Regions from separate parts of the Homo sapiens genome. Here regions 1 and 2 are each linked to region 3. The links are contacts of gene promoters, found by promoter capture Hi-C in blood cells and fetal thymus (Javierre and others, 2016). All regions are on one chromosome and are shown on one strand. Each heading gives the region's core, a stretch centred on a gene start or on the middle of the fragment in contact. The rest is flanking DNA. Distances are from core to core; before and after follow the strand shown.

Region 1 (3,412 bases), core at 500-2,999, about 21 Mb after region 3:
TCAGGACGCCCTGGTCCAGAGATCTGTCATTCATCCATCTCAGACCTTCCTGGTCGCAACCAGCTTCTTCCCTTCTCAGGGGCCGCCACAGTCACACTAGTCCTCTAATCATGGGTGGACCCAGCGCAAAAAGCCTCACACAGAATGTCACAAGATCCCTGTGCACGTGGCTGCGCTCCTGCAAACGTGGCAATCACACGGGTCCAGGTGGCCTCTCACATTTAAGCCACATCACGTATCACCCCCACAGGGGCCACTGCGGGAGTGGCGGCGCTCGCCGCATGAGCCCCACGCGGGCATATAGAACAGCCATTCTCAAAAAGCCTCAAAACCGTTTCACCACCCAGCGCGGTGGCTCACACCTGTCATCCAATACTTTGGCCACTGAGACGGGAGGATCGCTTGAGCCCAGGAGTTCGAGACCACCAGCCTGGGCAACATAGCGAGACCCTGTCTTTACCAAAAAAATAAAAATAAAATAAATCGTTTTGGCCTGACCCGGTGGCTCACGCCTGCTATCCCAGCACTTTGGGAGGTGGATGCGGGAGGAGCTGAGGAGGTGGAGACTGCAGTGAGCTAGGATCGCGCCACCGCAGTCAGCCTGGGCAACAGGGCATGAAGACCCTGTCTCAAAAAGAGGCCGGGCGCGGTGGCTCACGCCTGTAATCCAGCACTTTGGGAGGCCGAGGCGGGCGAATCACGAGGTCAGGAGATCGAGACCATCCTGGCTAACACGATGAAACCCCGTCTCTACTAAAAATACAAAAAATTAGCCGGGCGAGGTGGCGGGCGCCTGTAGTCCCAGCTACTCGGGAGGCTGAGGCAGGAGAATGGCGTGAACCCGGGAGGCGGAGCTTGCAGTGAGCCGAGATTGCGCCACTGCACTCCAGCCTGGGCGACAGCGAGACTCCGTCTCAAAAAAAAAAAAAGAAAAAAAAAAAGTTGAGTGAAATATATGACGTACAGTTTTTTGTTGTTGTTGTTGTTTGTTTTTTCTTGCCCGGGCAACAGGGCAAGAAGACTCTGTCTCTAAATAAATAAATAAATGGAGTCAAATATATGACATACAGTTTTGTTTGTTTGTTTGAGAAGGAGTTGCTCTGTCGCCCAGGCTGGAGTGCAATGGCGCGACCTCGGCTCACCGCAACCTCTGCCTCCCGGGTTCAAGCGATTCTCCTGCCTCAGCCTCCCGAGTAGCTGGGATTACAGGCATGCGCCATCACGCCCGGCTAATTTTGTATTTTTAGTAGAGACGGGGTTTCTCCATGTTGGTCAGGCTGGTCTCGGTGATCCGCCCGCCTTGGCGTGAGCCACCGCGCCCGGCCAAAAAAAAAATTTTTTTTTAAATCGTTTCACATACAAATCTCACGCGCTACACCCTCACCGTCAGTTCATATCCACCTTCTCCTCCGGAGTCACCTTCGGACACGCGCACAACAAAACACCTTTCTCACCACAACTCCACAAAGGGAAGCCGGGTTAGTCCGCGCCCGCCGAAAATTATCTTCAGCCACAGCCCGCGGAGGCCGCCTTGAGGGGTTCGGGGCAGCCACTGTGCCTATTCCGAAATCCGTCCTCAGCGGAACCCGAAGTCCAGAATCCGAAAACGAACATTAACAGGTTGGCGTCACTCCAGCCTCGGGTGAAACTGCGCAAGTGCATCCCGGAGCCCGGCGGAACACACCCGCTCCACCCCAGGCGCTCTCCCCTCGGACTGCATTTCCCAGAGGACACTGCTGTCCACAGCTACTTCCGGTAGGAGCCTCGCAGGAATGGTCTCCGGGTAGAGGCAGGTAAGGATGTCCCGGGCCGGTGGAGAAGGAAGAGCTGGGCGTGTGGCTTCGCTTGGAATCCGAATCAGAGCTTGGACCAGAGCCTTCCCTGAGAATGCTGAAGGTAAGAAATCCTGGCTCACCAGTGCCGCGGAAGGGAATGTCTATAGTTTTAGGCCTCTGAGTGCGGGATCAGCCCTTAGGTGGGTGTGTTTTGAATGCGTGAGGAAGTAGGGTTTCTCTTTGGGCTGTGTGTTACTGTTGGGACAGCGACCTGGTGCGTGGGTGTGCTTTAGTGACAGTGTGATTGTGTGCCTGATCATTTGTGTAAATGGGGTTTGTAGGTGACTGTGACCATGATTGTGAATGGCTATTTGTGTAAATCTCATTTATTTACGTGAAAGAAAAAGCACATTTACAGGCCGGGAGCGGTGGCTCACCCCTGTAATCCCAGCATTTTGGGAGCCCGAAGCGGGTGGATGCCCTGATGTCGGGAGTTCGATACCAGCCTGGCCAACGTGGAGAAACCCCACCTCTACTAAAAATACAAAATTAGCCGGGTATGGTGGTGCATGTCTGTAATTCCAGCTCCTTGGGAGGCTGAGGCAGGAGAATCGCTTGAACCCGGGAGGCGGAGGTTGCTGTGAGCCGAGATCGCGCCATTGCACTCCAACCTGGGCAACAAGAGTGAAACGAAACTGTCTCAAAAAAAAAAAAACAAAAAAACATTCACGTTATCCTCAGGCTCACACGATCAGGCAGAGAGCTTCCACTCCTCTCAGTCAACTCTGGTCTCTCACACACAGACACACGCACATTCACCTCACCCCGCTCCTGTGCACACATCTAAGGCTCAGGACGCCCCACTCCAGAGATCTGTCATTCATCCATCTCTCATCCTTTCCTGACTACTTGAGGAGTTAGCTGTAGATTTACACACACAACACAAGCGAAAATCACATTGCTACCCCGCATTTATCATTACAGCCTCAGAAAAACACCACATATGTAGTATGCTTATGTACCTATGTGTTTGATTTTTTTTTTCTGAGATTTGGCCACAATACACATTGTTCTGCAACTTCCTTTTTTTTTTTTTTTTTTTGAGACGAAGTTTCTCTCTTTCACCGTGGCTGGAGTGCGGTGGCGCGATCTCGGCTCACTGCAACCTCCGCCTTCGGGTTTTAAGCAGTTCTCCTGCCTCAGCCTCACGAGTAGCTGGGATTACAGGCATCCGCCACCACACCCAGCTAATTTTTGTATTTTTAGTAGAGACGGGATTTCACCATGTTGGCCAGGCTGGTCTTGAGCCCCTGACCTCGTGATCCGCCCGCATCTGCCTCCCAAAGTGTTGGGATTACAGGCGTGAGCCACCGCGCCCGGCCTCTGCAACTTCTTACTAAAAGATATTTATGTCCTTTTGTCTGTATTCAAAGACAAACTTAAGAATATTTTTCAGGATGTTTCCAGGTATGATTCTTCTTTAATTCTTACAGCACTGTACTTCAAACTAAAGACTCAAGAATTTATTTTGGTCTGCAAATTTTTGTTCTATTTATTTTTTCTCTTCCATCTGTGTTGTTTCAGCCTCTATTTTTGAAATTTCTGTTACACATACACTGGGTCTTTTGGGTCTGTTT
Region 2 (3,871 bases), core at 455-2,954, about 21 Mb after region 3:
TTCCAGCAGAAGAAATTCATCCAGCAAAAAAAAAAATAAATACACACACACACACACACACACACACACACACACACACTCTCAAATAGGAATTTTGAGAGTGGCAGTTATGAGATAAAGTTTTTTTCTGTGTGGTCCCAGTGGTATTCTATTCATTTAAGCATATCAGTCATCAGTCAATACCAGGTTTCCCAATAAATGATCTTTTTTGGAAGGGAAGGGACGGAGTCTCGTTCTGTCGCCCAGGCTGGAGTGCAGTGGCGCGATCTTGGCTCACTGCAACTTCCACCTCCGAGTTCAAGCGATTCCCCTGCCTCAGCTCCCGAGTAGCTGGGGCTACAGGCATGCGCCATCATGCCCAGCTAATTTTTATATTTTTTAGTAGAGACGGGGTTTCACCATGCTGGTCAAACTCCTGACCTCAGGTGATCTGTCCGCCCCAGCCTCCCAAAGTGCTGGGATTGCAGGCGTGAGCCACCGCGCATGGGCCCAATCTTTTTTTTTTTTTTGAGACGGAGTCTTGCTCTGCCACCCAGGCTGGATTGCAGTGGCACGATCTCGGCTCACTGCAAGCTCCGCCTCCCGGGTTCACGCCATTCTCCTGACTCAGCCTCCCAAGTAGCTGGGACTACAGGCGCCCGCCACCACGCCCGGTTAATTTTTTGTATTTTTAGTAGAGACGGGGTTTCACCATGTTAACCAGGATGTTCTCGATCTCCTGACGTCGTGATCGGCCCGCCTCAGCCTTCCAAAGTGCTGGGATTACAGGCGTGAGCCACCGCGCCCGGCCCGCATGGGCCCAATCTTACCCTCTGAAAATTATTTTGCCTCTTCCTCTCCATTAAAAAAAAAAAATCACTACTTATTTTACTTGTCTAATTACCAGAGTCAAATTCTACAGGCATATATAAAATGCCCAATACTCATAAATCAATCTAAACAATGCATACTTTAGTCAACACTCGGTTTCTCAAGCACTCCACCTAAGTCACACAGTGTGCCACATTCACAGTCATCATAGGTCGTGTACACCAAATACTTTTAAAATTAGGCATATTCATAGCTGTATCACCCACTACATAGTCATAATCCCATAGGCCCCCACGTCGTGCACAATTTCACAGAACTTCTACAAAAAGTAACAACCTTTCACTCACAATGCCCTCACTGTCGCCTCTCCAGAGTCGGACACAGGCTCAAACACAAATCGACTCGCATCTAATTTAAATTAAAACTTAAGACACGCAGGGACCCTATCACTTTCATAAACAACCGGTTCCACAACGTCACACAGAATAACACATTCCCCTACCACAACACACAGGACAGGTACGAAAAGCCACACACACACACACGGAGCGCCTGTTGTGTGCCAGGCCGTGCTCCAGGAGCCAGGGGACGAAAATCAGACGAAATTCCTGCCACTGGGGAGCTCACCCCCCGCCTCGGGCAACCGGTTCCCTTCTTCAGGTGCTCCCGGGCCCGCGCTCTGGTTCCTGCTTCCCTCCCAGCCTTCTCTGAGGCCCGGACTCGCACTTTCCTCCAGCCAACTCCTCGTCCCAGGTTGCTCCTCTTCCCTTCTTGCTTTCCCCAGCCCAGGCTCCCGCCTCCCTCCTCAGCCTTCCTTACGGGTCACACCGTCACCCGCCTTCTCCGCGCCCGCGGGACCCACCAGCCTCACCTTCGGTTGCCGGCCGGGCGTCTGCGCATGCGCACTCCCACGCGGACGATGCCTCCCAGGTGTCTCCGCGGCGCGTTCCTGCTGTCCACCGGCTACGCGCGCCTTCTCCACATCCGGGCGTTTCCGGCCTTGGACTACATTTCCCACAGGCGCCCGGGCGGTTTTCGAACTTTGATCTCTGGTTCCCCTTCCAAATTCTCATAGTGCGTGGCTGGGATGAGGGCGGCGCTCACGGTGAGGAAGCCCCGAGCTCCCGGGACGCAGACAGGGTGTGCAGGGCCGTAGCTCGGGCCTGTGTATGCACCTGTGCGTGTGTGTTTGATGCCAGGACAAGGCGGCGGTGTGCGCGGCGAGGAGGCTGCGACAGGTGCGTGATTGTGTTCCTGTCCCTGCTCGGATGCGGGACCTTTGGGTGGCCGTGGTCGGCTGTCGGGTGTGTGACACTGTAGGGTTTGAGACCTTCCATCATGACAGTGCTGCTGTGGCCGTGTGATGGAAGAGCCTTTTAGGTCTGTGGTGTTGTGTGTGTAACGGGTAAAGCTTCATTTCTGCAGTGCTGTGTTTAATGTTGGGACTGAGGGGTCTGTCGAAGATCTCCCCAATGTGCCTGTGAGGACTATGATCCATGCCTATGTTAAGCAGAGTCATCTTGCAATGAAGCATGGCCCGCGTTGTCTTCTCAGGGCACACCTGTCCCCAGTTCTCAGCCTGGTGTTTGACACAGGGGATCCTGGCGGAGTGCCCACCTAAGCGGCAGTTTTAGACTCGATTGTTTCTTGGGCTCTGCATCTCTGAGTTCCCAGCTTCCTTTTTTCTCCCGCTTTATAGCTGTATAGACCCCAGCTGCAGTGAAATGGCCATCAAAAAGGGAAGGGATAATCGAGTGGTGGAATAAAATCTGCAAACAGAAAAAGGACAGACCTGTTTTCGGAACGAGGCTTTTCGAGTTGTAAGTGTCCCTTAAGCAGAGTTCTGGGAAGACGTCGTGGGGAGAACCTAGGAGTAGGATTCCTTCCTCAGAGGCTCTCCCTTGGGAACTCTCAGAGGTCAGGTTCCATGTGATCCACATCATTCCCAGAGCTGTCTCCGCAGGAGACTTAACGTGAATTTTGAGAAAGTCCCCAGTCCTGGATATCAGTGACCCTGGCCTTTCCCTTGAATACTAAGAAGGGTTAGCAGTACTCCCATCTCCCTTTTACTTCCATCTGAGTATGTTTATGGTAGATGATGAGAGCTCGTGTGGTGGCAATAATTTTTTCCAATTTAGCCAATCTGGGTTCCAAGAAAGGTCTGATGTCTCATGATTCCTTACCCCTTCTCCCTTGCCTTGAGGTTCTCTAAGAGCCCTGAGGAAAGGGAACCATTGCTGAGCATATCTGAAAACCAAGGTCAAGGAAGTTTTGTTGTATTTTCTATTTTTGTTCTCTTTGATTTTGTTTTTCAGCAAGGGAGTATTTTTTCTCCTCCTGAAATGCTAGTCAGTGGTTAGGTTACTATTAGGCAGGGCCTTGTGAGGTGCTTTGACCAATAGAATGTGGTGGAAGTGATATTGTGAGACTTCTGAGACAAAGCTTCAGGAAGTCTTGCAGCTTTTTCTCTTCCCCTTTTCCTGCCCTGAGACCACCATGACTGAAGGCTAAGAGCAACTTGCTTGCGCATTAAAGATCACTTGGAGAGAGAGGTCCAGTGAGCAACAACGGCCAGAAATTTCAGGGAGACCATCTTGAACCATCCAGCCTCCACCAGGCCAACAGCTGACAGCTGTCACATGAATATGATCAGCAGAAGAACCACTCAGGCAAGCCAAGCCCAAATTGCCAAGCCCCCCAAATAATAAGCTAATTGTTTTTTGTTTTAAGCCATAAACTTTTGAGGTGGTTATATAGCAATAAATAACTGAAACAGGTGTTTAACTTTCTAGACTTTTTAAATGACCATATTGATATAATTGTATTGTTCAACCTGTTTTGTAAAGTGATTTCTCTGATACAGTATCTTGAAAATATTCCTTAACTATTTTCTACAACTTTGCATTTGTCTATCTTAGTATTATATTACATGGATATGTGGTAACTTATTTAACTACTAACTTCCCTTTGCAATTCCTTTTCCTTGCTGTCTAGCTCCCATGTCTTGACCAACTTTGCATTCCCCTCCAGGACCTTATGGGCACATGGGTTCCTATCATTT
Region 3 (3,632 bases), core at 312-2,811:
CCATGTTGGCCAGGCTCATCTTGAACTCCTGACCTCAGGTGATCCCCCCAGCCCGGCTTCCCAAAGAGTTGGAATTACAGGCATGAGCCACTGTGCCTGGTCTGATACGGCCTTCATGGAGAAATTAAAAAAATACTTTCCATTCAGGAATAATATGTCAGTGTGTTCTGAACTTAACTTCAGGTCTGTTAATGAGGTTTTTGTATTTTCTTCATGAAGATCCTTTATTGCTTTTGCTAATTGATTTCCAAGTTGCTCCAACCATCACTATTGTGAGTGACAATTTAATCACTATTATGGCTTAGAATTTTTTTTCTAATTTTCATTTCAAAATTGTGAAGTATTTCAACCTGCGGAGAGGTTCGGAGAGTAATAGAATAATCTATAAATAATAAAGATGACACCCATGTATCATCGAGATTTTACCTGTGTTAACATGTAGTCAGATTTTCAGGTTTTGATTTGTTTTTTCCTATCAAGCATCACAGGTGTAACTGAGGTCTCCTTTGTCTCCTCCCCAACTCTTTCCCCTCAGTTGCCACTTTCTTGAGGTTGGACAATCTATCTGGTCCATGTTATTGTTACTTTACTACTTATGTATCAATCTCTGTATAACATATAGATTTTGTGTCTTTTATTTCCAGGTAAGTTGTATCATGTGGATAAGTGCACAGTTTACTTTTCGAACTGTTTTTGGAGAACTGTCTATCTTGTATATAAGTTAGTCCTTTTTTTTTTTTTTTTTTTTGAGACGAAGTCTCCCTCTTGTCCCCCAGGCTGGAGTGTGATGGTACGATCTCAGCTCACTGCAACCTCCGCCTCCCAGGTTCAAGTGATTCTCTTGCCTCAGCCTCCCGAGGAGCTGGGATTACAGGCGCCTGCCACCACGCCTAGCTAATTTTTGTATTTTTAGTGGAGACGGGGTTTCACCATGTTGGCCAGGCTGGTCTCAAACTCCTGACCTTAGGTGAGCCCAGTCCGTTTGTTTTAACCACCCCCTATTGCTCCGTTGCACATACCACAGTTTCTCTCTTCCCTGTCAGTAAATATTTAGGCTTCCCCATGCTAAAGTTTAAGAGAACCACTGAAAGAATGAAAATGTGTAGTTTTCATTTTCAACCGGCTATTGTTACTACAGAGGAAAGTTACTGGCTTTGTTTACATTTCTTAGATCTAGTCATTTTAACAAATTAGGCCTCCCAAAATGCTGGGATTACAGGCGTGAGCCACGCACCCAGTAAATAATTATATTGCCAATGAATAATGAGTGTACTTATTCTGAATTTTAACATTATTATCTCAAAAAAAGATTATAGATAAAGAAATATTTTAGGAAATTATGCAGTAAATAAAAGGAAGGCTCTATAACAAAAGAATGATAGCATCGGGTTAAAAATCAGAGGAGACCATAGGAGAAAGTAAATGCCTGCGCGTCCGCCCCGAGGCAAGTCCACGCCAGGGTAATGAATAACCCGGTACCCGCGGCCGCCCCAGCGTTGGGCGGGGGAAGCTCGGGGACTCCGCGCACGCGCACATCCTTGTCCCGGCAGCCGCGCAAGCGCAATCGCCCGGAACATGGCTGCCGCCGGCCGCCAACCGTAAGTGCCGACGCATCCCTGAGCCCTGCGCTGCCTCCGTTTCCTGCGGAGGGAAGTCTTGGCGGGTGGAGGTCCGCCGGGTCCTTGTGGGGCGGCGAGGGGCGCGTCCGCGGGTGGGTTTCACCTGGGTGGTGGGCATGTCGGGCCCGCTAGGGCGAGGGTCTGGCCAGGGGCGTAGTTCTCCTGGTGGGTGGGGACGCTCCGTGGCGATTGGGGTCACTCCTCTGAGGACGAGGTCGCTCCGGGGCTGGTCTGGACGCCCCCGCTCTTTCCTTAGCGTCACCCGTGAGTTCCGCGCTCGCATCTCTAGCCCGCCCTCCCATAGAGACTGTTTTGCCACGCCTGCTGGGTGTCCTGGTCCGTCTCCGGGGGTAACCCCCGAGTCTGCAGCTTTTCTGTCAGGTGTGAGGGGCAGTGTAGGCTTGGGTCGGCCTCCGGCTGAATTGGCGGCCGTGAGCCAGTGGGCTGAGCCGCTTCCCCTTGAGTCTCGAAGGTGTTAGATCACCTGTGTGTTTTTCCATTTGATATTTGCAAAATCATGTTTTACTGCAATTCTCAGTGAGGGCCGCATTTTTGCACGTGTTTAGTGACCATTTTGCTGTCTTTTCCCTTGGTTTAGTGGCATATTTCCTTTGTGCAGTCTTCCAGTCTCAATATTTTATGACATAAAATGTTGGTTTAGATAGAGAAGCTGAAAGACTTGTGCAGTGAACGACCCGGTTAACGTCTGCTGAACTTACTGTATCCCTTATCTTTCCTTCTGTCCATCCTTTCAGCCATTCATTAATCCACCTATTTTTGGAAACATTTCAAAGTAAGTTGCAGATATCACAACACTTCTCCCTCAAACACCTCACTATGCTTACCATGAATTAGAGTTCAGTAGTGCTTTTTTAAATTTTTTGAGCCAAAATTGACTTTCAGTGAAATGCACAGATATTCCCTGTACCATTGATGAATTTTGACAAATGCAACCTAAACCTTTATTAAAATTACCATCAGCCTGAAAAGGTCCTTTATTTTTTGCCAAGTTAAAAAATTTGGCTATAGGAACTTGGGCTTGTTGAAGTACGTTTTGAATACCCAGTTTTTGTCTGTTTTTTCTTTTTTCCCACAGCAAGTGACTTTCCTCCATTCTACTGCTTGTTTACCTCTCTCTTCACCCAACTTTTCATTTTGAAAAGTTCCGCATTTGCATAGAAGTTGCAGGAATAGTTTAACACTTCTAAAACCATCCAGATTCTAAAATTATTAACACTTTTTGCCACATTAGCTTTATCTTTATCTTCTCCCTGCCTGAGACACATGCATAGGTGTTACCAGAAAGGGGGTCCCGAGCTATAACCCAACAGAGGGTTCTTATATCTTGGGAAAGAAAATTCAGGGCGAGTCCATAGAGTAAAGTGAAAGCAAGCTTATTAAGAAAGTAAAGGAATAAAAAAATGGCTACTCCATAGATAGAGCAGCCCCAAGAACTGCTGGTCGCCCATTTTTATGGTTATTTCTTGATTATATGCTAAACAAGGGGTGGATTATTCATGCCTACCATTTTTAGGCCATATAGGGTAACTTCCTGATGTTTCCATGACATTTGTAAACTGTCATGGTGCTAGTGGGAGCAGGACCAGAGGTCACTCTCGTTGCCATCTTGGTTTTGGTGGGTTTTAGCCACCTTTACTGCAAGCTGTTTTATCAACAAGGTCTTTATGACCTGTATCTTGTGCAAATCTCCTGTGTTATCCTATGACCTAGAATGCCTTAACTGTCTGGAAATGCAGCCCAGTAGGTTTCAGCCTTATTTTACCCAGTCCCCATTTAAGATGGAGGTTTGCTTTGGTTCAAACGCCTCTGACATAGGGTTTTCTTTTTATATTTTACACACACTTGTACACACAGCAGGTGTTGCAGAGGCAGGTGTGATACAGACATATATTTACATACACTTAGTTTTTTTGGCTGAGTTACTGGAAGTATGTTATAGATATCATACCTCACTCTGAAATACTTCAGCCAGGATCTCATAAGAAAAGTAAC

The links. Contacts are between HindIII fragments. The CHiCAGO score rates a contact against its expected background, and 5 or more counts as called.
Region 1: a contact is called between the fragment with the promoter of ZNF461 here and the fragment with the promoter of ZNF329 in region 3, in 4 of 17 cell types (non-activated CD4 T cells, monocytes, total CD8 T cells and 1 more). The highest score is 13.3, in non-activated CD4 T cells.
Region 2: a contact is called between the fragment with the promoter of ZNF567 here and the fragment with the promoter of ZNF329 in region 3, in 6 of 17 cell types (non-activated CD4 T cells, total CD4 T cells, activated CD4 T cells and 3 more). The highest score is 16.9, in non-activated CD4 T cells.

What each region holds. Positions count from the first base shown.
Region 1 is chr19:36,665,174-36,668,585 of GRCh38, reverse strand. It overlaps ZNF461 (zinc finger protein 461), which reads left to right and starts at 1,749. Exons shown (of 6, transcript NM_153257.5): 1 at 1,749-1,896. It also overlaps a transcript of ZNF567 not described here. RefSeq lists an enhancer at 1,443-1,572. The HindIII fragment of the contact is 6,595 bases long and covers 1-3,412 here.
Region 2 is chr19:36,685,445-36,689,315 of GRCh38, reverse strand. ZNF567 (zinc finger protein 567) reads right to left here and starts at 1,704. Exons shown (of 6, transcript NM_001322917.1): 1 at 1,682-1,704. It overlaps ZNF567-DT (ZNF567 divergent transcript), which reads left to right and starts at 1,867. Exons shown (of 4, transcript NR_110708.1): 1 at 1,867-2,048; 2 at 2,510-2,630; 3 at 3,301-3,479; 4 at 3,805-3,871. RefSeq lists enhancers at 648-1,287, 1,848-1,897 and a silencer at 1,588-1,647. The HindIII fragment of the contact is 4,431 bases long and covers 1-2,223 here.
Region 3 is chr19:58,148,718-58,152,349 of GRCh38, reverse strand. ZNF329 (zinc finger protein 329) reads left to right here and starts at 1,561. Exons shown (of 4, transcript NM_024620.4): 1 at 1,561-1,598. RefSeq lists an enhancer at 1,425-1,484. The HindIII fragment of the contact is 7,703 bases long and covers 1-3,014 here.